Linked DNA regions of Homo sapiens: regions 2 and 3 are each linked to region 1. Evidence: promoter capture Hi-C in 16 types of primary human blood cells and fetal thymus (Javierre and others, 2016). All regions are on one chromosome and are shown on one strand. The core of a region is centred on a gene start or on the middle of the fragment in contact, and the rest is flanking DNA. Distances in the headings are between cores, read along the strand shown.

The links. The method cuts DNA at HindIII sites, captures the fragments that hold promoters and counts their contacts. A CHiCAGO score of 5 or more calls a contact.
Region 2: a fragment that was not itself captured here is called in contact with the fragment with the promoter of CLLU1 in region 1 in 1 of 17 cell types (M2 macrophages); the score reaches 5.5 in M2 macrophages.
Region 3: a fragment that was not itself captured here is called in contact with the fragment with the promoter of CLLU1 in region 1 in 2 of 17 cell types (fetal thymus and endothelial precursors); the score reaches 6.1 in fetal thymus.

Annotation. Positions count from the first base shown.
Region 1 is chr12:92,419,116-92,423,453 of GRCh38, reverse strand. CLLU1 (chronic lymphocytic leukemia up-regulated 1) reads right to left here and starts at 1,923. Exons shown (of 2, transcript NR_027933.1): 1 at 1,619-1,923. It overlaps CLLU1-AS1 (CLLU1 antisense RNA 1), which reads left to right. Exons shown (of 3, transcript NR_144319.2): 2 at 2,281-2,440; 3 at 2,994-3,368. The HindIII fragment of the contact is 1,184 bases long and covers 1,853-3,036 here.
Region 2 is chr12:91,377,384-91,381,721 of GRCh38, reverse strand. All of the region lies in intron 4 of LOC105369896 (a long non-coding RNA gene), which reads left to right. Among named protein-coding and RNA genes, the nearest start is that of LINC02823, 53 kb to the right of the region's middle. RefSeq lists an enhancer at 1-830. The HindIII fragment of the contact is 2,179 bases long and covers 1,142-3,320 here.
Region 3 is chr12:91,398,053-91,402,390 of GRCh38, reverse strand. It overlaps LOC105369896 (a long non-coding RNA gene), which reads left to right. Exons shown (of 9, transcript XR_001749251.2): 3 at 3,012-3,282; 4 at 3,554-4,338. Among named protein-coding and RNA genes, the nearest start is that of LINC02823, 73 kb to the right of the region's middle. The HindIII fragment of the contact is 598 bases long and covers 2,308-2,905 here.

The sequences.
Region 1 (4,338 bases), core at 674-3,173:
TGTAGCCCAGCAGTTTCCTTACATGCTGTGACCCAGCAAGCTGAGCCAGCTCTGTCTTAGGCACTTCCTGGAAGCAGGCTTATTGGTGTTTTCAACACCCAGAGTGGATCATTTGTTAACTCCTTCCTCCTCTATTCCGTACATTTCTTTTTCAGTAATAATCCTGTAATAATCAGTAATAATTATGCTTTTCTTGATTCGCTCTTTAGTTTTATAACAAATACCAGTTTTAAAAAGAAGAAAGCTGTAATTTCAGTGATGTTACTTAGTCTTGTAAAAATACTTCATGTACTTAAAATTGTGTCTAAAAAGCCAAAAATATTCCAGCATGAAGTTGACACTCTGTTTTACTATTCAAAATTTTAAGCACAAGTAAAAACTCTCAGTGGTTCCATAGAATGACAGAAGCAAGCAATTTTGGTTCACTTATTTTGTCTACACAATCACTGTGTTATCATTCTTGATTTTGAATCTGTGATTTGAAGAAGAAACATGTGGTACCCCAAAGACTAGGGCCATGAAATACCCTAAGTATTTACCTGAGTCCTTAAGAGTCAGGGACTGTATACCCGAATGTTTCCCATAATCATTTTCATGTTGAATTCAATGTTTGTTAAGGAACAGGTAATAAAAATATGCAAACTTGAAAGTATTTATATATTTAAAAGCTCAGTGGTGACCACAACAATTATTTAGAATTCAAACCAAGAAAATGTTTTTTCAGGGAAGAGTATTTGACCACTAGTATGATTTAGAATTATGATGCATGGCAATAATTATACCAAACTGCATTTCAGTGACTCTATTATTTTTTCAGATTCTCTACAGACAGTGCAGCCTAGTATCTCCCAGACTTGTACTTCCTATGGCCCTGCACTTGGGGCCCCACTGCCTGGTAGAAATGAAGGTTAGTGTTCGAAAGTATTTAAAGAATCCTGCTAATCCCTATTTTATCCATAAATGTCATCTGTCATAAAGAAACTTTTAGCAGTTTCTCAACTTCTGAGAGGTCTTGTGGGAGGTTTTGCCATAAAGTGCTCTTGTTGAGCTCTTGATATCTATAAGCTGATGCCCTGGGCTTGTCCCAAATGATGCCTCCCACCCATTCATCAGCAGGACACTATCCCAGTTCACACACCTATGCCCCATCTCCACATATGTTTCACCAAAACCATAAATTTTGAAATAGAGTCAATATAAATGTATAACATATTGTATTAGGGCTCTTCAGAGAAAAAGAACCAATAGTATATTTGTGTGTGTTTGTGTATGTGTGCGTATACAGTCATGCACTACACAATGACATTTCAGTCTACAAAGGATTGCATATATGATGGTGATCCCATAAGATTATACCATATTTTTACTGTACCTTTTCTACATTTAGATATGGTAGATACATACATACTTATCATGATGTTATACATACTTATCATGAGGTTACAAGCTACACCATGTAGCCTAGATGTGTAGTAGTCTATGCTGTCCAGGTTTGTGTAGTTACACTCTATGATGTTTGCACAATGATGAAATCACTTAACAATGCATTTCTCAGAACCTGTCTCCATTGTTAAGCAATGCATAACTGGATATGTAAATAAAATGGAAATTGACTCACACAATTATGGAGGCCAAGAAGTCCCATGATCTGCCATCTGCAAGCTGGAGAACCAGGAAACCTGGCAGTGTAATTCAGTCCAAGTCCAAAGAACTGAGAACCAGGGAAGCCAAAGGTGTAACTCCTGGTTTAAGTCTGAAGGCCCACTCACATCCAAGGGCAGGAGAAGATGATATACTAGATCAAGAAGAAAAGAAGCAAATTTTCCCTTCCTCTTTTTGTTTTATTCAAGCTTTCGACAGATTGGATGATGCCTGCCCTTATTGGTGAGAGCCGTCTGCTTTACTAAGTTCACCAATTCAAATGCTGATCTCTTCCGAAAACACTCTTATGGACACACCCAGAATAATGTTTTACCAGCTACCTGGTCATCCTTTAGCCTAGCCAGGTTGATGCATAAATTTAATTATCACACATATAGTCTTACCAATTAGTGACCTTTTCATTCTTTATGGTATTTAACAGTGAAGATTTGTAGATGGTCTGTCTACTTGGTTTTATAGGTTTTGATCAGCACTCAGAAGCTCAGTTTGATCACCCTAGTTTGGCCTGAGCTGAAAGCACTGAAACAGTGAGTTCTTTGGGTCTTACTTCTAGAAACCAGGAAATGAGAGAGATAGTGACTTGGTTTCTCTTATGTTTCCCTTTTGTTCTCTTCTCAGTGGCCTTGCTAACAAGTTTACCTCCAAACTATGAGATTTCAGAAGGAAAACCAAGAGCCATCTCTGCATATGTGAGAGCGGGCAAAGGAAATGTGACAAGGAGAAGAAAGAAGACACACTTGGGCAATGATGATGGGAAGAAGGAAGCACAGGAGAAAATGTAAGAAATGTACAGGTGAGAGAGATCAGGAGAAAGATGGGAAATGTGGGAGAGCAGCAGGAATCATAACAATAATAATGCCAATTTGGAAACGAGAACCAGTGTATAAAGCATACCAATAAGGCCAACGAAGTGCCAACGATGGAAAGCCACCCTATCAGGAGAAAGTAAAGTCATAGCAGATGTTTTATGAGACAGCTCAGAACACAATGACTGACCAAGAAAGCGGCACAAGTTAGAGGTGGAGAAATGACCCAGACCCAGACCTTTAGGGGTCCTGAACTTGGTTCATACCTCATGTCAGAAGGAGTAGTGACCAAAAGAAATTCTCTTTGCTTTAATTATAGAAGCAGGAATATACCTGATTTTGTATGTAACAGCATATGTTTAAGATCTGAATATTTCTATACCCAAAAGCATAATGTATTAGGGTTAATCATTTGAAATTGCCAATATGCACTCATTTTACCTATAAAAACTGTAATTTTGCATGGTTCAAACTAATAGATATGAAGATATTCTCAAGCAAACTTTTTTTTCTTTTGCCTTGAAGCCCATGAGGAAGATCCAAAGAGAACTTTGGCCTTAACTAAGCTTCCTACATTCTCCTGGAGTCGGTGGTTTATGAATGTGGTGCCATCTGGGGAACTGACAACCCCTGATGTGTTCACTCTGCTCGTCTTCCAGGTGAGAGAAGAAGAAGGCGAGAAAGAAAGAGAAGTTCCAGAATTTCACAGGCTGAGGGAGATGGTAGTAACTTCTGTTTATGTTGGTTTCTGTTTATTGGTTTGCTTTTTATTTTGAACTCGTTTGACTTCAGGTTCCAGATTTGTTTTTTTCTTTGTAAACGAGACTTTGACATTGTTAGCAGGCCCATCTGTTTGCTTTTCTTAAATAAAATGTAAATTGGTTTTTGTTTTAAATTTCAGGTGCTTTTAAGTTTGACTCTGCTATTCATTTCCTAAGGTAGTTTGGGCATGGTAGTGCTGGTAAGAACAGAGAAATCTTGCTTTATAGAATCTTTTTGTTCAAATGAATGTACATTTTTAGTATTCGAAAATTATCAGTTTTAATAGGTTTGATTTTCCTGTCTATAATCTGTGTTTTCTTCCTTATTCCCTCATTCTTTCCTATCCCATGGGCTCAGATTTATGCTCTGATCAAATTTCTTTTCATATCTTTCCACCTCACAACACACACAAGAAACCTAATACAAGCCACTATCTGTTTCTTTTTCAATGGAAAAGAAAAGGATTCCTATGGGATCATACTGATTCCTGTGGGCCCCTTGCATAAAAGATTGTAGTGCATTAAATAATGACCCTCCATTGGCCAATCAATCATTATTGAGCACCTAGTTTATGTGGAATACTGTTCATACAATATCTTGAGTAATGATGGGAACAGATTTCATGAGAGATGTTGAAATACTCATGGACATAGACTATCTTGGCAATTATGCTCTTGAGATTCTTTTATAATGGACACATATTTGGAACAGAAAAAAGCTGGAAACTTTCACAAAGGTTTGATCCAATGGCTTTTTAAACATGAATCTAACCATTGTGAAGTTTGGCATCTACTTTGTACCCCCAGCAGTGCCAGCCCGTGTAAGGTATGCAGGTAACAGACAGATGATTGTACTGGGAGTGGTGAAAGTCCTGCCTTAACAAATATTCTCTGTTTTCTCTGCCTCTGTCATACTATAAAAATGTTTTCTTCTCTGGGATTATTTTAAAGATACCTTTATTCCAGGTAGTATTTTATCCCCTGGGAGACAGATCTTATCTAACCACAGATTAGAAAGAGCAGCTGATCTTCAGCCTGGGTGACAGAGCAAGACCCCATCTCTATAATATATATATATATATATAATATATATATTTTATATATAATAT
Region 2 (4,338 bases), core at 982-3,481, 1.0 Mb after region 1:
CCATTTGTTTTGTAGATTTCACTACTCCCTTTGTTCCGCTTCAAACCTTTCAGAGGGCTGAAATGCATTATTACCTTGTTAAAGCTCAACCAAAATCATTTCTACAGCCTGAAGCTGTTTTGACGTGGGTTGAGTATCTCACACAAAAGAATTGCTTTTGTTCCCAGAAGCTCTTATTGGCTGAGTGGCCTTTGCTCTGAGCCAATCAGAAGCTAGTTGTTAGGCTTGGCTGGCTATTTTTAGCCCAACACGCAAAAACACTTGGTCTTGGAGGGGGTCGGCTGGAGAGTGAAAGGCCCTGTAGTAAAAGCCAACAGCTAAATGCATTTTGGATGTCAAGGCGCGTTTGACATTTTCTCTTTAATTCCTCATACGCTGTTACATTAGCATGTGTTTTTCGTAAACAACAAACTTAGAGCTGCATTTCCCAGTCCTGAATTATCCATTTAGTAAAGAGACAGAAAGGCTAAGAAACAGCATTCCCCTTTTATCCAAAAGCAACGCACGGTAGTATCTAGTTATTTCATAACGCAAAAAAAAAAAAGTCAGTTACCGTATTGAGAATACTAAGGTGTTTTTGCCAAAGAATTTTTATGAATTTTCATCTTGAGTTAGAAATTTTCAATGCCTTGCTCATAATGAATTATAGAGTCCTAAAATAATCTTTTCCTCTTGCCCTTTAAATATGTATATAATTACACGAACGAGTATACACATGATGTGTAGCAATTAAAATAATAAATGCTGAGTGTGTTTCATGCATTGAGAAAAAGCATTCTTTTGAGCATGTTCTTCCATTTAAGCCATTACTCAGAGGGCACAAGAAGTATTTTTCCCAAATGCGCTTCAAGAGACAGGGCATTAAAACACACAATTTGTTAATTATCCGATATTATCAGGAAATGAAAGTTGCCAAACGGGAAAAGCCAGGCTCTTAAACTTTGATTTTCCCTCAGCAGTCTATTCAACTGGGCTTATATAAGGAGGAGACAAGCTGAACCCAAATTTTACAACACAAAGCAATTTTTATTGGCAGCAAGGGAGACCCCTTCCTGAAAAAGAAAGAAAAAACCCAAATCTATGTCTAATTCTTAAAATATGTTTCAGGTTGTAGATTTTAGCAATATTTATTATTCAAGCTTGGGAATATGACCTCATTTGCCATGGTTGTTTGCTTATTTTAAGAAAAATGCCTTTCTACTTCTTGTTGCAAGCCATCAGGCAACCATTTAAACATGCAAGCAAAAAGTCTGGATCATGGGCATATTTAAAAATCTGGAAGACTTCAATAAGTTGTAAAGATTTACGATTCCATCGTGGGCTTGCAGAAGGGGTTTGCTGTGGCCTTCTGTGAGCAAGGGCGGCCTAGTATATGGTGGGCATAGGCCAAAGAACTTACCAAAAATTCTACCAGAGTGAAGGGAGCACAAATAGTTTTGGGGGAAAACTTTCCTTGTCTTAAGCAATACCGTATACAGTGTTTAGAAGGAATGTCACCTAGGTTTCAGAAGGTGAATTTGAAAGGCTGAAATAAAGTACTTTAGAAAGAGGTATCTTTTTCTTTCCAACATCAATTTGATGCACACAGGGACAGATTTTGAGAAGCTCTGTAATTGCTCCCAGGAGTTGAGTTAGGTTGAGGTAGTCAACCAGCTGCTAACAATTTAGTTTAATATGCAGTCTTAGTAAATTAAAGGAATCTGATAAATTGAGACCCAGCATGATTCTTATTTGTTTGCTATGGCATAACATGTTGAACGCCAGCAGAAATTAACCCATTGAAATTTTTCTACTCAAGGCCCCCATTTTATTTTCTCACTTTCCTGTGTCAGATGTTTTTGCTCCAGACTTGGTCATCTGAGCAATTCCTTAGTTTTATGCTTATCTACTTAAAAAATATATATATAACAATAATACAAATTCTAGAATCATGCTTATTTTCAGTTTTCTCTCTGTGTTTGTATTTAAACTCCTTGAAGGTAAAAATAAATAAATAAATGAGTCTGTTACTCCTCTTGTGTGTTAACCTTTCTACTTCACATGTAGATCATCTTAAACATGCTTGATGTAGATTTTGTTTTCTGTGGGAGCTGAGACACTTGTGGGAGGAGAAATGTGCAATTTTGTACTTGGCTACATCCCCAGAGGAGTGGTGACCAGAAAAGGGAAAGACAGCTTGCCAGATACCTAAAGGATAAATGAGATATTGAGCTACTGGAAACACCAAAATTTACCATTGATTCTTTCTACACACTAAACTGTTACTTGTGATAGTAGTTGTAAAAAACTGCATGTTTATTAACCGAAAGGTGATTGTTCTAACATTCACTGGGAAAGAGTGAAATGGTTGGAATAACACTTTAGCACTCATACCTAAAGATTTGCAAAGCCAAAATGCCAGGCAAAATTAAAACAGGCTAAATTCATATGTACAAAAGAGCTGTAATTCTTTTATGATGAAATAGATATTTTCTTAGAAGCAACAGTTTCCTGTGTTCTGTAAAGTAAGCCAAGTCAGTAATGGGTAACTCTGGCATCTCCTGCTCTCCTCTCACCTCATGGATGCCAGGCTTTCGAGTTGTATTTCAATTCTCCCTTACATTGTGGCCTCTTTGCCTCACTCCCAAATTCCTCATACCTCTTCCAAACTTGCAGTTAGGAGTGAATATAGGATCCTCCTCCTCCTCCTCTTTCTCTCTCTGTCTTTAGATTAAACTGAAAACATGGCAGCTTTTTCCAAAATTATTCATTCTTTGTCAGGTGTGTGTGTATGTGTCTTATTGTGCCATTGAAAATAAGAATGTGGAGGGTGCCTTACTATGCCATAGAACAATTTATTGTGTTTCTGGGTTGCCATCTTTTCAATCTGATTAATTTATGGTCCCATAGAGAATCTCTGGTGTGAATTATGTTAGCTTTGTTGAGTCCACTGTGCAGAAAGTCAGTTTGTATCAATATTCTTCTAGGCTTAACAGTTTCTCCTTAAAAGGCTTAATAATTGCCTGTCATTTGTCTCTTGGCCCATTTTTATCTTGGAAATGATTGGCTGTTAGGCAGACCATTTGTGTAATATTACTATAAAAGCCTTAAAACATGGGAAGAAAATTAGAATCATATGTGTATATACTAGGTTAGTAATGAATAAAGTGCTTTTCTACAAAATTTTGAGGACCTTTTAGGAAATCAAAATCTTTAATGACATGAGGATATCCCAAGTCAGAATAAGGGGAAGTTTGAGGGAAAATATTTAAATTAGAGGGTAACTTTGTGCAAGGACAAGTGATATTTGTAATTTTTAGTGTACAGGCTACCATGAAGCTTACAAATGAAAACAACAGCAACAATTTAAAACCAAACCATCTAAGTCAAATTTTATCTAAAATGAGGTAAATGCTATGACAAAAATGAAAATTTTATTGCAATTCAAGATCAAGTAGATGTCATTATGGTTTTTCAAATTATGAAATAAATAAGGAAGGAAAATGTGGCTAAACCTACAAAGAACTATGAAGATTAAAAATGGAACGTGGAATTTGTACTGTCTTAATTCCTCTGGCTTTTATAAACAAATAAAAGTAATATTGTATACTGCTAATAGCCACTCTAAAATATATTCCCCAAATGAGAAAATAATTGTATTTACATTATATTATAAGAATAAACTTAATTATGTTTTCAAAAGGAAATACTGGAAAGTGTAATAATAGACCTCAGAATAAAATAACACAATCCAAATATCCCTTATATTTTTAATAAAACAGCAGAACCTATTATTATAGATTTTCCACTAAGGAAAAATATGGAAAGAAGCTGAGGGAAAACATAGGTAGGGCAAAAAAATGCAAACCATTTTGAAACTTGATGTAGAAGCATATTATTTTAGCAAAGTAAGGGAATCTATAGATCCGAGTGAACTATTCCTTTTCATTGGCATCCAAGATCATTCATCATGTGAAAATCTGTAGTATAGTTAGATGTAGAACAATCCAGAAGGAGGTGGGGCTGGGTGTTGGTCACATAACTATAAATTTTTCAAACCCCAAAGATTACAGAGCTCTTAAGCAATATGTCCGGAATAAGTGAGCAGAAAGCAAAGGCATGAAGTGGCACTGTGAATAGTCCTCATTACAGCTGCATGCCTAAGGGGTCTTATTTACAGCTGCCCTCTCCTTCCAGTGGCAACTCTTTTCTCTTTCATGCATCTTGAAAGCCTCTGTAATTTCTCAGTGAGAATGATTTGTTGCTTACAACTGACAGAATGACAAACGAATGCTTTTAAACATCCATTTTAAATACAGGACTATTAGAAAAAAATGCTGCGAAAATCCCTTACCCTTT
Region 3 (4,338 bases), core at 1,357-3,856, 1.0 Mb after region 1:
ACCTCTTTAGGGTGAGCAGACTAATTCACCCACAAACCCTTTAATTGTCTTTTAGCAGGCTTGTATGCCAAAATATTTTAAACAAAGCCTGTGTACTGTGTGTTTCAAATTGTTAAAACTTCTTGTATATCTCTTTGGATAGAAAAATCATGAGATAAAGAGATATTCAGATGTTTCCATGGCTTCAGGAATTTTCTTCTCATCTCCTTTCACTCTATACAATAATTTGGATATACATCCATTTTATTTGATTGATATTAATATTAATTATTATTTTATTTAAATTACTCAATGGACCCCAGGATTCAAACATTTATTTCCTTTAACATATTTGTAGCCAGTGATTACTGCTGTAATCCACTTGGAACAAGGTTTCTGGAGTTTGATACATTTTGATACAGCATTAAAAACAAAAGTTATCTTTCAGCCAAATACTTTTGTAGTAATAAATGTAATATTCTGGAGCAAAATATTATACTGCAAAAATTAATAATTTACTGAGCACTTACTATGTGCAAAGCAACGTCAGTGCTTACAAAATTCATTTCGATCTTTATAACAACCTCATAAAGAAGCTATTTTTGATACTTTAAACAGGTTAGAAAATTGAAACTTACAAGAGTTAAGTAAACTGTACAAAGCCCCACACTCAATATGAATCCAAAGTCCTTTGCCTTAACCTCTTCCCTCTACCCCTCACCATATGTGAAATTCCCTTGTTTTCAAGGGGCTAACATTCCAAATAGATGTTATTATTTTACTTTTTCCTTGCTATCCCCATTCACAGTTTGGCCTAAGACTTGGGTCTTCTCTAGCTTTGATTGCATGCAAAATTGGCCAAAGAATAATATGTATAAGGGAAAAAGAGTCTGGTGAAATTCTACTGACTTTATTGAGCATCTTACTTCTTTAATGGAGGAAGTATATTTCATATTTCAAAGGGAGGGTGTGTTCCCTGTGAATAGTCTTTTGTCACACAGTGTTCCAAGGCCACAGTCAAATTAGGAAAACCAATATAATTGCACACATTTCCAACTAAAGTGTATTAGTCAGACTAGTTCTATTTTAGAAGAGCCAGTTTTGGGGCAGGGTGAAAAACAAGAGGAGTGGCTGGCTGTACCCATTAAATTGTTCAATATGAGATATGGAAAGCAAAGGTGCAAAGTCAAACTCATAAAATAAAGTGGAATGGGGCTATATCTTCCACATTTTGTATTTTTCATAACCACCACATATGATAGCTACCTGCTTACTACAAAATTAATTGTTCATTTTTATTCTAGAGCATCTGCAGCTTTTATTTTTTTCTCTCTCAGAAAATGAGTGTCATCTTCTACATATTTAGAGTCATAGATCCAGTTAATATTTCTGATATGTAAGTGTTAGAGTATTTAGCTCAGTGTTTGGCATATAATACTAAAGACCTAAACAAATATATGATTATATAAGTAAATTTATTTCATGATTTGAGACCAAATGGTAAAACCATCATTTTGTTAGAAAGCAAGTCAGGCCCCTAAAATAACATTATACATCCAGAAGTATTTTTTGAATGTGCATTTGAAAAGAAAAAACACATACTTGAGATTCCCTTCTTGAAAATCTTTAAGAAATTTTGATTCAATGTGTTTTCAAATGTTATGATGAGATTACTTTAGATTTATACTTAAGATAAAATGTATAGGTAGGAATTTTGATGAGATATTCTCCTTGTCATGTACTGTACTTACTGATTGGAATGCTTGCTCTAGTAACAATTGAAAAAACATTTTTTTCATGCCGCACAAAATTATTTATTATTATGGAGAAGCAGGAAGCCAGCTAGTAATATGGATGAGAAAACTTTACCTTATTAGGCAACAGAGTAGCTTTCGTGAAGATCAACATCCTCACATCCTGATAAACTAATCTCTCTTAGCAGGAAGTAAAAGGAAACTGGAAAGAGGATGCTGTCTTTATCTTCCACAAGCGTAATGTTATTTTTGTGATAGCAGGAGATAGAAGGGAGCCAGGGTGAGAAAAGGGAACCTAATTCTGCACTATGATTAGCTGAATGTGAGCTTCTTGACGTAAGACATCAAAGAGTATATGTATTTTATTCCTCATAATTCATTTGCAGAAGTTAGAAGTTGTGCATGTGTTTGCAAAAGTTAAATGTGTACATGCGTGTGTGTTTGTGTATGTGTTAGAAACCTTTCTTAATACTGGCAATTAGGTTTTTCTCATTAGAAAAAATAAATAGAAACATAGATTTTACATAAAAACAATATCACAGCTATGAAAAGAAAAGAAATATAATGACAAGCTTTATTTCAAGAAAATATAAAGATGCAAGAAACTTTTTTGTCAAAATAAGATAAAACTGGAAGATAATAAGATAAAGGATAAAAAGATAATAATAGAGGAAGAGTGAGAAAAGCAAAAAATTGTGAGAAGTTTATTACAAAATGGGTATTGATGGTTTCTTTAATTTCATACTTTTGGAGTTATTTTGTATTTTGCTGAAAGGTTTAGCTGTTTGAACAAATTATTGCCATGACTCTTATCAGTCAGACGTCTTTAGGGCAGTCATGGAGGTATTTGGCTCAGATCTACCTTCAAGAGAAAACCTGTCAAAAGGAAGACAAATTAGATAACAGCCTCCAGGTGCAAGTATGCCTCAAATTTGAACCAAGACCTTATGATACCCAGACATTTTTCAGCCAATGAGTATGGCAGGGGTACAACAGAACCTCAATTTTCAGGCACAGGACTCCTCAAAGAGCAGTCCTCCTAAAGGAGATCCCCATCATGTTGGCTGGGATTTTGTCAGAGCTGCAGTGCTGTGTGAGGCTCATCCTATCCAATCTTCTGGCTTCCTTCTCACCTTTCATAGGAGCCAGGCCTTTACTACAGTGTGAAAGCTTCCTTTGGATGTTCCTGCCTTCTTTGCCTTTACATGTTTAAAAGGTATTATTCTCCAATAATTTTTTTTTTGCACTTCTAACTCAATCTTGGCTTTCCCTTTCTAGAAAAACCAAGTGACATTAATTGATACTGGACACAATCTGTGATATCAGTGATTAAGTTGGAGTTATGCAAGTGGATCATTTGCCACCAACCAGAAAATAAGGATTCCTTTCAAGTGGATGTGGGATATGAATATTTTTTGGCACAAGACAGTAGTTCAATTGGTAAAAATTTCATCAATGGTGACTTTGGAGAATGTCATGTTGCAGGTGAATGTCCTAACCAGGACAATATTCATGCATTTGAAAAATCCAGCGTGAGAAACATAGAAAGGTAATGAAATTGACTAATTATTACTAAGTTGCATTTGTGGGACAATGAAAATTGAATACGTTGCATTTGTGGGATGATGAAAAATTGAGCATTGTTAACAAAAGCCCAAATGTAAGTGTAAAAGCCAGAAGGCATCTTGGGCAGCCTATAAAGTGTTTTTATCTTTTGCAAAGAGAGAGAGTGGCCATAGCTGGAGAGGAAATTCAGGATCTGCTGTTTAGGGCCACTGAGCTGCAAAGATGATTGGATGCTCATAGAGGAATTTTCTTAGGCTAAGGTCAGAGATCTGCTTGGGAAAACTTGAGGCATTAAAATATTGGAAGAGGACATCTGGGTAAATTTCCCCAAGGATCTACAACTTGAGAGCCTAAAGAATTGACCCACCATTCTCTATGAAGAGCTAGACATTTTCTCATGCAAGAAGATACTTCAGAGGCCACTTTCACATAAGATAAATGGTATGTTTATCAGGAATTACTCCCACTTTTTCTCTAGGCTTCTAGGCTAAAAATCATGGCTAAATTCCAGCATAACCCAGCTGAGGGATAAAAACATACTGGGACTGATAAGTAAGAAAAGAGATAATCATTTCATTAAGTTCAATAATTAGCTAGTATGTGCTTTCAGGATTCAGAATAGTATCCATGAGATTGGATGTTTGAGTATGCCGTGGTTTGAATGTATCCTTCAAAATTCATATGTTGGAAACTTAAGTCCCAGTGCAACAGTGTTGAGAGGTGAGAACTTTAAAAAGTAGTTAGATCATGAGGGCTGTGAACCCTGAAAGAGCCAATCCTTTAAGATGGAACCTGAGTGGCTAACTGGGCCTAAATTCAAACGGGAGCTGAGTTCCATTTGCTGACCAGACATTACACATGCACTCTTCATTCTTGGAAAAACCACATATTGGTATAACTGTGAGATTCTCATATCTGCCTATTTCTGTTTATACTCCTGAGCCAATGGTTACCATCACTTTGATCTAACCAATAGCCTGTGACCCACAGTGAAACTTAACCTCAACCAGCTGAAACTAAGCAAGCTTGCATCCCTCAT